3 separate regions of the Homo sapiens genome follow, and all the other regions are linked to region 1. Evidence: promoter capture Hi-C in 16 types of primary human blood cells and fetal thymus (Javierre and others, 2016). All regions are on one chromosome and are shown on one strand. The core of a region is centred on a gene start or on the middle of the fragment in contact, and the rest is flanking DNA. Distances in the headings are between cores, read along the strand shown. Region 1 holds the start of CNN3 (calponin 3). Region 2 overlaps ABCD3 (ATP binding cassette subfamily D member 3). Region 3 overlaps TLCD4-RWDD3 (TLCD4-RWDD3 readthrough).

The links. Contacts are between HindIII fragments. The CHiCAGO score rates a contact against its expected background, and 5 or more counts as called.
Region 2: a contact is called between a fragment that was not itself captured here and the fragment with the promoter of CNN3 in region 1, in 1 of 17 cell types (total B cells). The highest score is 6.2, in total B cells.
Region 3: a fragment that was not itself captured here is called in contact with the fragment with the promoter of CNN3 in region 1 in 6 of 17 cell types (naive B cells, activated CD4 T cells, naive CD8 T cells and 3 more); the score reaches 7.6 in naive B cells.

What each region holds. Positions count from the first base shown.
Region 1 is chr1:94,925,457-94,929,086 of GRCh38, forward strand. It overlaps CNN3 (calponin 3), which reads right to left and starts at 1,654. Exons shown (of 7, transcript NM_001839.5): 1 at 1,382-1,654. The coding sequence starts at 1,438. CNN3-DT (CNN3 divergent transcript) reads left to right here and starts at 904. Exons shown (of 3, transcript NR_168377.1): 1 at 904-1,284. RefSeq lists silencers at 762-1,191, 1,292-2,171. The HindIII fragment of the contact is 4,662 bases long and covers 1-2,760 here.
Region 2 is chr1:94,421,668-94,425,297 of GRCh38, forward strand. The region is part of intron 1 of ABCD3 (ATP binding cassette subfamily D member 3); the gene reads left to right. Among named protein-coding and RNA genes, the nearest start is that of ABCD3, 5.1 kb to the left of the region's middle. The HindIII fragment of the contact is 5,695 bases long and covers 1-3,630 here.
Region 3 is chr1:95,236,356-95,239,985 of GRCh38, forward strand. The region is part of intron 7 of TLCD4-RWDD3 (TLCD4-RWDD3 readthrough); the gene reads left to right. The region is part of intron 1 of RWDD3 (RWD domain containing 3); the gene reads left to right. Among named protein-coding and RNA genes, the nearest start is that of RWDD3, 4.0 kb to the left of the region's middle. The HindIII fragment of the contact is 1,601 bases long and covers 1,216-2,816 here.

The sequences.
Region 1 (3,630 bases), core at 404-2,903:
ACTGTTGTCTAATACGGGCAACACGTTTGAAAAGGTAAAGGACCTAAACATTTCAACTTTAGATACATAGACTAAAATCAACTCCTTGCTTCAAAGACAGTATGATGTGCAGACTAACAGCGGGAGACAAGAGCCACAACTCTCCCTTGGGGTTTGACAACGGTGCGCTTCATTACCTCTTTACATAATTCGCTTCACACCGCCTACCCCCGCAGCCCCGGGATGTTCCAGCTCTGACAATGCCAGTGCCTTCCACCAGCGGTCGGACGGTGCGGTGGCAATCCTGACATGCTTGGGCTCCCGGGAGGTTAATGGGAATTAAACCACAGGCAGCCCTCCTTTGTGGCGCTTTGGCCAGAACAGCAGAAAGGAGACAATGAGCGTTCTGTGCACAGTTCCGCGCCGATTGGCTGGTCTCTCCCCCCAGAAACCCCTGATGTCATGGGCTTGGAATGCAGGGAGGGAGGAAGGAAGGAGAGGATTTGGGGAGGGGGACGCCTCTCATCTCTTTCCCAGGCCAAAAGTCCTAAAGATAAACCTAACGCATTCTTGGGCTCAGTGGCAAAGCTGAGCGTCACCAAATCCCAATCGCTCCAAACTATAAGCCGCCTCAGCAAACAAGCCCCAAACAAAAGCAACCCACAAAAATAATCCTTTATGTCGTGAAAGTCTAATGTACTTCAAACTTCTCAGTGTTTCATAAAAAGTCTCAAGCCTAAGCAGATATCACTCGCACAGTGGCGCGCTCAGGCTTTGTCTCCATTTCCCGCAAAAGCAACAGCAGAAGCAGCAGCAGCAATCTGCCTCCAAATGCCTCCCAGGCACCGAGATCGGAGACTGTGATGGGTCCCGGACCGGCTTCCGTTCCTCGGGGCCCCTGGGGTCGGCGGGACATTAGGCGGTCTCTCTCCCCGTGGGGAGGCGCGGAGTCCGCCAGCACCCGGGGCCCGGGCAGATGGCGGGGGCTGCGGCAGCGGCTCGCCGGGTCCCTGGCCGCGCAGACGGGCTCCGCCTAAGGGCGAGTGGCCACGCAGGAGCGCCCCCTTCCCGGAGGGCGCGTTCTGCAGTCACCAAACGGCCCCCGAGACCCCCGCAGCCGGAAAGGCTGGCGCCGCGGGACTCCAGGCGCCCGGGAACCCACCGCCAGCCACTAGTCCTGTCCCACGGCGCGGGAACAAAGCCAGGCGGGTGCCCGGGAGCCGGCCCCGCAAGCCCGGGGACTGGACGCGACCGGGACAGGCAGAGACGCTCGCGCCGCCTCGACGGCCCCTCTCCAGGAAAACGGTGAGCCACAGCGCGAAGAGCAAACGAAGCACGGCCCAGCGCCAGGCCAGCCCAAGGGTGCCCCGGGGGCCCCCGCGCCCGCCCGAGCCAGGCGTACCTTGTTCTTGACTTCGGCCGAGAGCCCATAGGAAGGGCCCTTGTTGAAGTGGGTCATGGTGGTTCGGGCGGCGGGAAGAGACAGCGCTGGGGTCCGGGGTCTCTCGCACTTCGCTTCCCCGCTCCTGGCCCCGAGGAGTGGCCGCCGCGGGGGATGCTCGAACTCCCTCCTCTGGGAGGCGCAGGAGACGGCCGCGGGGCGCGGGCGGTGCCTGGGCGACTGGGTCCAACTGGGTGCTACAGAGCCTCGAGCTCCGCTGCGAAGCACCCGGCTGCCTCGCTCGCCGCCCGCACCTCGGTTCCCCACAGGCCGCCCCCGCCTCCGCCTGGGCCTTCGAGGATTGGCCGCCGGGCCCGACCAATGGAGGGCCGCCTCCTCCCGCCTCTGCGCCGAGGGGCGGTGCGGCCAATTGAAGGGCCGCGGGGGCCGCTTTCCCTCCCGCTCCCTCCCCGCGAGGTCCCCGGCCCCCGCCCCAGCCCTCACGCCACCGGGGCCGGCGGCTAGGCGGCCCCGCCCCCGGGCTAGGCAGGGCGCCTGGGGGCTTCCCAGCCACAGGCCATTCACGTCAACCTCCAGGCATCCTCCGCGGCGGGCCGGACCGGGCCGGCGGAGGGGAGCGGAAGCCCACCGGGGCTGGCCCGCCGCTGACCCGCCGCCTCCGTCTGCCTCCTCCCGGGCTCTGGGCCCAGCGCGCCCAGATGCCGGGCAGGACCCCTCCGCCCGCTGCTGGAACACCAATAGCAGCGTTGGAGCCTCTGGGCCGGAGGAACTGGGGCCTCCACCGACACCTGCTTCTTCCCTCACCTCGCAGCCTTCCACACCTGTTGATCTGACCTCTGCCCCGCTGCCGCCCAGGAGTAACCTAAGGCTTTTGGCCTGATTCGAGCTCACTCCGTCTAAACCTCTAAATGCGGTGCGAAAAAATCCTGGGGAATGTGCCATGCAAAGCCTGGGCATTTCAAGTGCTTTTCTGGATTCGCATCAACTCCTCTTTACAGGCATCTTTATCCGGAATTCAGCTCGTCCCAAACCCCACGTGGTGTAGCTCTGCTTGTGTTTTTGAATCCCGGGGCCTCTTTGAATCAGAAGCCCTTTGTATAGAGATAAGTATCCTTTAGGCCAGAATCAGCCTCCATTTTTTTCGCAGTCCCATTTCCTACCCGTAATACTTTCTTCTGATTTTAAAGCCATTTGATAGAGAAGGGACAGGGAACAGAACCTTCGCCCCCCGCCTGAGCAGCTGGTAGACTAGATATCTTCCAAACATTATCTCATTTACTTCCCTGGAGTTACAAATAGGTAGATTTCATGTCCGTTGAGGGGTGAGAAAGCTGAAACTTTGAGACTTAAGAATCCTGGCCGAGGTCAGCCTCCTCCGAAGCTTCATCTCTTGCCACCACTTTCTGGTGCACACCTAGGACAGATTTCAATCCCTGAGATCCCAGGATGAAACCTATGTTTGCCAAATACCAGCTACTGTGCCAGAAGAGATCATGGAACCAGGTGTGGAAAGCTGCTTGAGAAGAGGAGCCAAAACATCATAGTTGAACCGTCCTGGAATAGAAGTGAGTAAGGTGAACCAGGTGTGGTGGCTCATGCCTGTAATCCTAGCACTTTGGGAGACCGAGGTGGGAGGATTGCTTGAGGCCTGGAGTTCAGGAACATCCTGGGCAACATAGCAAGATCCTGTCTCTACAAAAAATCCAAAGTTTTTTTAAATTAAAAAAAAAAAGTGAGTAAGGCAGCTTGAACCGGAAATGCACAAAACTGCTATCCAGTTTGCAAGGCTTTTCCCAATGACTTTGAGGGATGGAACCTGAAGGAAGCGGGAGGAGGCAAATAGGGAGGAAAGTGAAATGATTTATAAATGACTTGCTAATTTTGTCCAAAGGGAGTAATGATAATTAGGGCATTCTTCCCACACGAAGATGACACAATTGACCCAATATCATTGAGGCTAACAGTTTGGGCTGTTTTTCCAGTAGTATGACAGTGACGGTGTGTCAACCGCAGGACCTCACCCACATTTCTTTGGGACCTAGGAGTGTGGGAAATAGCAGCCAGATTTGAGGTACAAATCATGGTGTCCAGCCTGCAAAGCCTTTTTGCAGCAATCTAAGCCTGACTGCTCCTGTTGTATGCTCAAAGTCATTTTAATCTACTTTAGCTTATTGTAAAATGTTCAAGAATTGTATTTTGTCTTGAAAACCATGAATTTTATTGTTTAGGGGGAGTTATTTTTTAAGGAG
Region 2 (3,630 bases), core at 634-3,133, 500 kb before region 1:
AGAATGAAATGTACAGATAGACATGTCTTAGAAGTTTTGAGAAAGACAAGATTAATGTGTTTGGGAAGGGTTGGGGAAGGCTTCATGAAGGATGTGTGTTAAGCCTAGAAAGGGGGTAGGAGTGGATAACTGGAATAAAGTGACTGTTACAGCATCCTTTATCAGATTTTTGTTGCATTTATGTTAGAAAGAAACTTTGTGGTGCCCTTTCAATCCATCTTCCACTGCCACCAGAGCTCTTTTTAAGAAGCTCAGATATGATCATAATATTCCTTCATTAAAATCATTAATCTACTCTAAAATACAAACTTTCTGTATTCATGGTGTGGTCCTTCCCTACTTTTCCCACTCATCCAACCATAAGTGCTGGGATTACAGGCATGAGCCAACTTGCCCAGCTGATACTTCTTTTTCTTCAAGACTCAGTCAACACTTTGTCTTAGGTGTTTTCTGTCTTTTTCTGATTTCCAAACTGATGTAAGTGTCCTCTGCTTTTATGATACTGTAGGCCAGGGGTCCCCAACCCCCGGGCTGTGGACTGGTACAGGTTGGTGGCCTGTTAGGACCCAGCTGCACAGCCTGTGCAAGCGAGCATTACCACTTGAGCTCCGCCTCCTGTCAGATCAGCAGGGGCATTAGATTCTCATAGGAGCGTGAACCTGTTGTAAACTGCACATGTGAGGGATCTAGGTTGCACACTTCTTATGAGAATCTAATGCCTGATGATGTGAGGCAAAACAGTTTCATCCTGAAACCATCCCCCAACTCAACCCCAATTTGTGGAAAAATCGTGTTCCGCAAAACTGGTCCCTGGTGCCAAAAAGGTTGGAGACTACTGCTCTAGGTATCCCCTACTCTAGCACTTACCATTCTGTATTGTACTAGTTTGTTTTCTTGGCTTTTGCCTACATCAGATCCTGAGTTTCTTGAGGGCATGAACTGAGTCATCTTTAATTCCCTAGTTCGGCTCTGTCATGGGTTAGACAGTGTTTATAGAGAGGATAAATGACATAGGATAGTTGAAGAACTTTTAAGCGTAATTGACAGGCATTTGGAGATGCCTAGTACAAACATGAATAGAAACATTCTTTTTGCAGAAGTAATAGTTGTGTACCTGAGCATATATAACCTGACCTGGGTAGTGGGAAATCAGTGGGCCAATTTTAGAAGGCAGGGAATGGTACCAGTCTGTATAGCCATAGTATTTTATTATCTTTAAAAAACAGAACAGAACAAAGCAGTTTCTTTCGCTTCTTATCAATGCTTGTCAAATAGAGTTCGGATTTCTCATCTTGGATTTCAGAGCCTCCCTCAATCTGGTCTTACTTTACCTGGCTAATCTTATATGCCATTGCCTGCCAATGGGTACTCTCTGTTCCAAATAGGACAGTTTCTACACTGTTCTTTGAACAGGCCACACTCATTTTTGGCTTTGGAGCTTTATTCATGCTGTTACTCATACCTAGAATATCTTTCTATGATATCCCTGTTCTCCAACTCTTGTCATCCTTGAAGGGTTAGGTCAGGGTCACCCTATCCATGAAGTGTTATTTAACTACTCCAGATGATCTAAATGATGATCACCTCTTTTAAAATTTCTGAAGCATGCATTTAAATACCTTTATTGTTTTATCTATTCATTGCTTGACTGGTTATAATCTAGCTAGGTCTACCAAAGTCCACCTGCTTATGGGGTGAGTTTCCTGCTTTTAAAAGCCCCCCTCTGTAAATGGTGGGAACACAGTTTCCTCTCCTAAATATTTCTCAGGAATTTCAGGGAGCTTGTGTTTCTTTTAGTGACATCTTACTTCGCTTCCTTTGGAGCACTTTCTGCTCTATTTTAGAAGGTACTTACATCTTGTCTCTTGAGCCTGTCTCTTTGGCGTCTGCCTTGATTTCTCTAAAGAATCAATCACAAAGCAGATATTTATAGTAGGGCTTTATTGAAAATTTGGGAGGAGTGGTAGGGATTATATCCCAGCATAGTGAACAGCTTAAAATGCTTTTATTTAGAAGTTTTTTGGACATTCCCACTGCTGGAAATTTCTTGACTTTTTTTTTTGTCCTGAGTCTCAGCCCTGTTGCCTGCTGCTGGGCCTTTCTTTACCCATTGGGTGTCCTTATATCTCCAGCTTCTTACTCCCTGCACTACGTTACTGCTAACCCCTCTACAACTTTCCTGCAAACTTCAAAATTCAGCTTTCCTTCCTTAAATCTGCCCCATTCAAATCAAGCTCTAGAAGGGGCTGGCTTCACTTTTCTCAGTTTCACAGGCGCACTGGGTGTTTTGCAAAGTGCAAGCATGAATCATGTGAGGGGCTAGAGCGGCTTGAGACCCTTACAGTTACCCATGAGTAGATGTTATATGGCCCCGTTTGGATCCTCAAAATAAAAAAGAGATGCTTAAGCAACCTTGGATGGAAAAAAAAGCATTGAAGAATTTGCCAGCCAAAGTAGCTGTGTACTGAACCCAACTGAGGCAGATCAGGCCCAGAGCAGTGTTCTGAGAACTGTGTAGCTGTCTGTGGTCTGCTAGGGGGAACTGAGTACAGGTTGTTTAATTAATTATATGTCCCAGTTACTGGCACATTCACATCCTTGGGTAGGCATTCTATTTCAAGGCTTTTGCTCTTGCTGTTTCCCCTGCCTGAAGTGCTCTTTCCTCAGATACTCACATTGCTTACTCTCCCCACTCTTTCAGTCTTTTTTCAGACATCCTTTTAGTGAGACCTTCTATTGCCATTCGATTTATTTTTATTTATTTATTTATTTTGAGACGGGGTCTCACTCTCTCACCCATGCTGGAGTGTAATGGCACCATCTTGGATCATTGCAACCTTTGCCACCCAGGCTCAAACAGTCCTCCTACCTCAGCCTCCCAAGTAGCTAGGACTACAGCCACACGTCACCACACCTGGCTAATATTTTTTGTAGAGACAAGGTCACGTTATGTTGCCCAGGCTGGTCTCGAACTCCTAGGCTCAAGCGATTCTCCCACCTCAGACTCCCAAAGTGCTGGGATTACAGGCAAGAGCCACTGTGCCTGGCCCCTGCCACTCAAAATAGCATCCTGTCTACCTTCCAGACTTTACTTTTCTCCTTAGCACTTATCACTATAAAATATGCTATATATTTTACATATTTATCTTGTCTGTTGTATATGTTTGCAGTATATACATACTGCTAGCATTTAAGTTCCACAAAGGCAAGAATTTTTGTCTATTTTATTCACAGTTATAGCCCCAGTGGCTAGAACTGTGGCTGGAATATATAGTAGACACTCATATTTGTTTGACTCTACAACAACAAATGAGATTCTCATTTTTTGGGGGCTGTGGTTACTATTGTTTTAAATAACACATTCTTTTTGCTACAAATGTAAATGTTGTCTTTAGTATATTTATGAGCTCTTTAGGAGCTGGACCACTTATACCCCCTATATGTACAGGTAAAGCAAGTCTCAGAAACTTAAAAAAATGCTATCATCACCTGCTTTTGACAGTTTAATAGAGTGTAAACATTAAAGACAATTTAAGAAAATTAAAAATCATCCATAATGTTATAACCATAATACAAATATTGTTTTATTTTTGTTTCCTTTTATTCTGTATTTATGTGCATTTTTACAGT
Region 3 (3,630 bases), core at 766-3,265, 310 kb after region 1:
AAAATGGGCTGGATGTTGTGAGAAAACCATTTAAGATTAAGATCCTTCATGATATCCATTGGGTGTGTTATTCACTGAAGGACAGGGAGTTGACTTCCATTTATTCCTTCTTGCATTCATCCACTCACATCCACTCATTGGGCACTGTTATGTTCCAGGCACTATGCACCTATTAGTGTAATGGAGTTGCTTTCTTTTTAGTGCCCAGCCTGACTTGTATCTTTTGAAACAATTGTTTAAAATCCATATGAAGGGGTTTACTCACTTTTAGTGTTTTCTTGTCATCCCTCTTCTGATTGGATAATTCTTCACCATCTCCCTCTCTGTCTCCACTGTTCTCTTTATTGATAATTACTTCTGCCTGAGGCAGCTATTTGAAGAGATCATCAGTTTTCCTAAATTCCTTTATTATGGCTCAGTTGGGAATATCCTGGAAAAATGAACCTGCAATTTCCCATCACACCTTAAAGAACTGGTAATGGTCTGGGTCATTAGTACACAGCTGAGCATAAAACACTGCTGAAGGGTCAGAGAAAACCCAAAAATGTAAGCATAGAAAGAAAACAGTTTCTTAATCTTGAGAACACTGTGAACCCTTTATCTGCTGTTAAATTGAGCATGACTTTCAAGCCATGCCTCCTAATTAGTTTAATTCCATGTTCTGGCATCAATAAGTAATTGAATTATAAAAGAATTCAGTGTAACAACTTAGGACATTTTGTTGCTGAGAGGTAGAATAATTCAGTGATTGAAATGGGGATGTTTGATGTTCACAAGTGGGAATTAAGGGGGTAAGGTAAAGGCCTTTTTTTTTTTTCCCATGATTTTCGTAACATCTTTTTACAAAGTAAGGACTTCTTTAACAGACCACAGTAAACATGCAGCAGACTGCTGGCTACCACTCACCATCACTGTCAGTTTGGGTTGGAGGATACACACTTGATACCAGAACACTCTAAACACTAGTTCTTTTCTGGCCTCCCCCAAATAAGGTTCTCCCTTTTGCCACTGGAATCAGGAGAATGTTGCAGAGGAATTGCATTCCTGGTAACAAGATAACCCAGCAAGACTCAGACTGCTAACCCAAGGATCAACTATTAAGGCCGTAAGATTGAAGAAGCTAAATAATTGGATTCCATTTAGCTGGACTAATTTTATGCTGAGAATTTCAGGGGATTTTATCTGCCTTTTGATCTCTTTACAATGGTTATAGTAAGCTTCTAGTAAGAGGCATAACCATCTCTTAGGGGTGCAAATTAAGTAAGTCCCTACACTCCCATCTACAAGGGAGGGCTGTGGATAGACCACATTAGGGATATTCTGTTTTTCTGTATGCATTGTAGTCAGTCCAGGTGCCAGATTTGATGGGGTGACCTGCCATGTACGTGATACTTGAAATGCATCTTACTTGATGAGGGGTACTATTGGTCTTACTTCACAGAGAAGATAACTGATACTCAGACTGGTTAAATAACCACCAGGCTCCAGGTGTATGGGCCTTTGCACTGCATCATGCTCCTTAATAGAGAGATGGGGCTGTTGCATCAGGAAAATAGTTCTTGGAAAGCAAGGAAATACTTGTGCAGAAAGAGCGATAATGAGCACCCAGAGAAAAGATATGAGTGTGAGCCAACTTATGTTCAGAACAATCCCAAAGGGGAGTGTTTGTGCATGTATGTGTGGATCTATGAGAGGCGTGAGATTGGTATTGTATCACCATTTTCCTGATGAGGAAATTGAGTGACACAGATTATGTGGCCATAGTCAATGTTCGTTATATGTGGGAGTTGTGCTTCTGGAAAGAATCTTACAGATAAAAAAGTTGTAAGATGGGAGAACCCAATATCATGTAATAGGTTTTCACAGAAGCTGCAGAGTGAATTTTTGTATTTTAGCAACACTAATGTTCAAATTAGTTTGGGCCTTCTTATAAAATGAATCATGACTGTCACACATTGACCCCTCTAAATCTGCTCAGCTCGGTTTTATGCTGATTGTCAGTATTGAGCTGACTTCTATAAAACCGATGAGATTGCTACTTTTAGCTTCATTTATTTTTAGTTTTTTTTTTTTTCTTCTGAAGCTACATTGAAACTTATGTAAAAATCCAACTGAAGCATAAAACAAGCACTGGTGTATGCTTGCCTGGGAGCTGCCTGGGAGCAAGAGGAGACAGTCTTGTCTTACCAAGTATGAGAGGGTGCTGAAGGTTTCTTGGTGGTTTTCTTCAAAGTTGTATCTTGAGGATATATAACAATTGCAAAGAAAAAAAACACAAGTGTAGGGAAGGTCAGATGTATATGGTATGTAAACAATTTCTTAATGGGCTCTTAGTGAATCCTGAAAAACCCATTCTCTTAAATTTTACCTTTTTTTAAAAATGTCTTCTGTTATTTGACTGCATTTATAGAGTTTCTGTTGTGTGTTGTATTTTATTAAGTAGAATGAAACCTTAAAAATAGCATTAGTGTGAATTTGGAGTTCTAAAAGTTTAAGTTTCTCTAGTTTGAATTTCTGTTTGGAATGTGTTTAGGAGCTTACTTTCTGATGTTTGTAAGGAAGCATAAGGTTTGAAACCTGTTTCAGTTTGTGTTTTAGGTATGAAAATGATACACTTACTATAAGACAGAATGATTTGGTTAGAAACAACAAGTAGTCAATTTGTATCAACTTGAACAAGAGGGCAAGACCCTTTTGGTAGGGTCTTTAGAATACATGAAAACACCCTTGGACTTATGGAGATTTTAGTTTTCTGGGGCAAGCCTTAAGTTTTCTAGGGCATAGATGTTTGTTGAGAATGATCAGTTTGTGAATTAAGCTTATTAACTAAGGTTCTGGGGGGCTAAGGAGGGGCAGAGATTAGTATTAGATTTAGAGCATAATTATTTTTCTGCTAATCACTGTTTCTAAGCTGTTAATAACCTTAAAGCAGATAGGGGCAACTTTGTTTTCTTTTTTATTATGGCAAAAAAAGAAAACAAAAAATCAGACTTACAGTGCATGTGTCATATGAAAAATTCTGAGGCAGAAAGGAGCCAGTTTAATTGCTTGTACAATGTCAAGCAGATGAGATATGGAAGAGTACAATACATACTTCTAGAGTTTTTGGGAGAAAATGAGTTTTTAAAAGTATGTAATTTTATTGCCACATTAAATACCAGAAGAATGGAGTATGTTATTGGGCTTTTCAGTTTCTTGTAGAGATGACAGTATCATTTTGTATAATCTTATTTTGCAGCTACAGTGTATGTGTGGGTGGGCAGGGGGATTTACCAAGACCAATTAGGAAGAATGCTAATCCTTTCCAATTCTTAAAAGAACTAAGGCAGTTTTCTTCCGAACATATAACTAGTATGACGGTCACAGTTTTCTAAGGTGAAAGTCAGGAGTTTCACCCATTGCTATTCTGTTTGCTGACTAGGACCAGAAAATAACACAGAGAAAAATGAAAATTGGTAAGGACTGACATGGCTGGCTCAGTAGCTTTTCAAGACTTTCCCCCTGGACTACCAACATGTTTCTTTCCTGTGGTTCCCTGCACCAGAGAGGACCCGGTAGGTGTTTATATGGCACAGGTTGGAGAACACTGTGGGTCTCAGGGTTTTGATCAGAAAAGGATTCTTCAAAGTT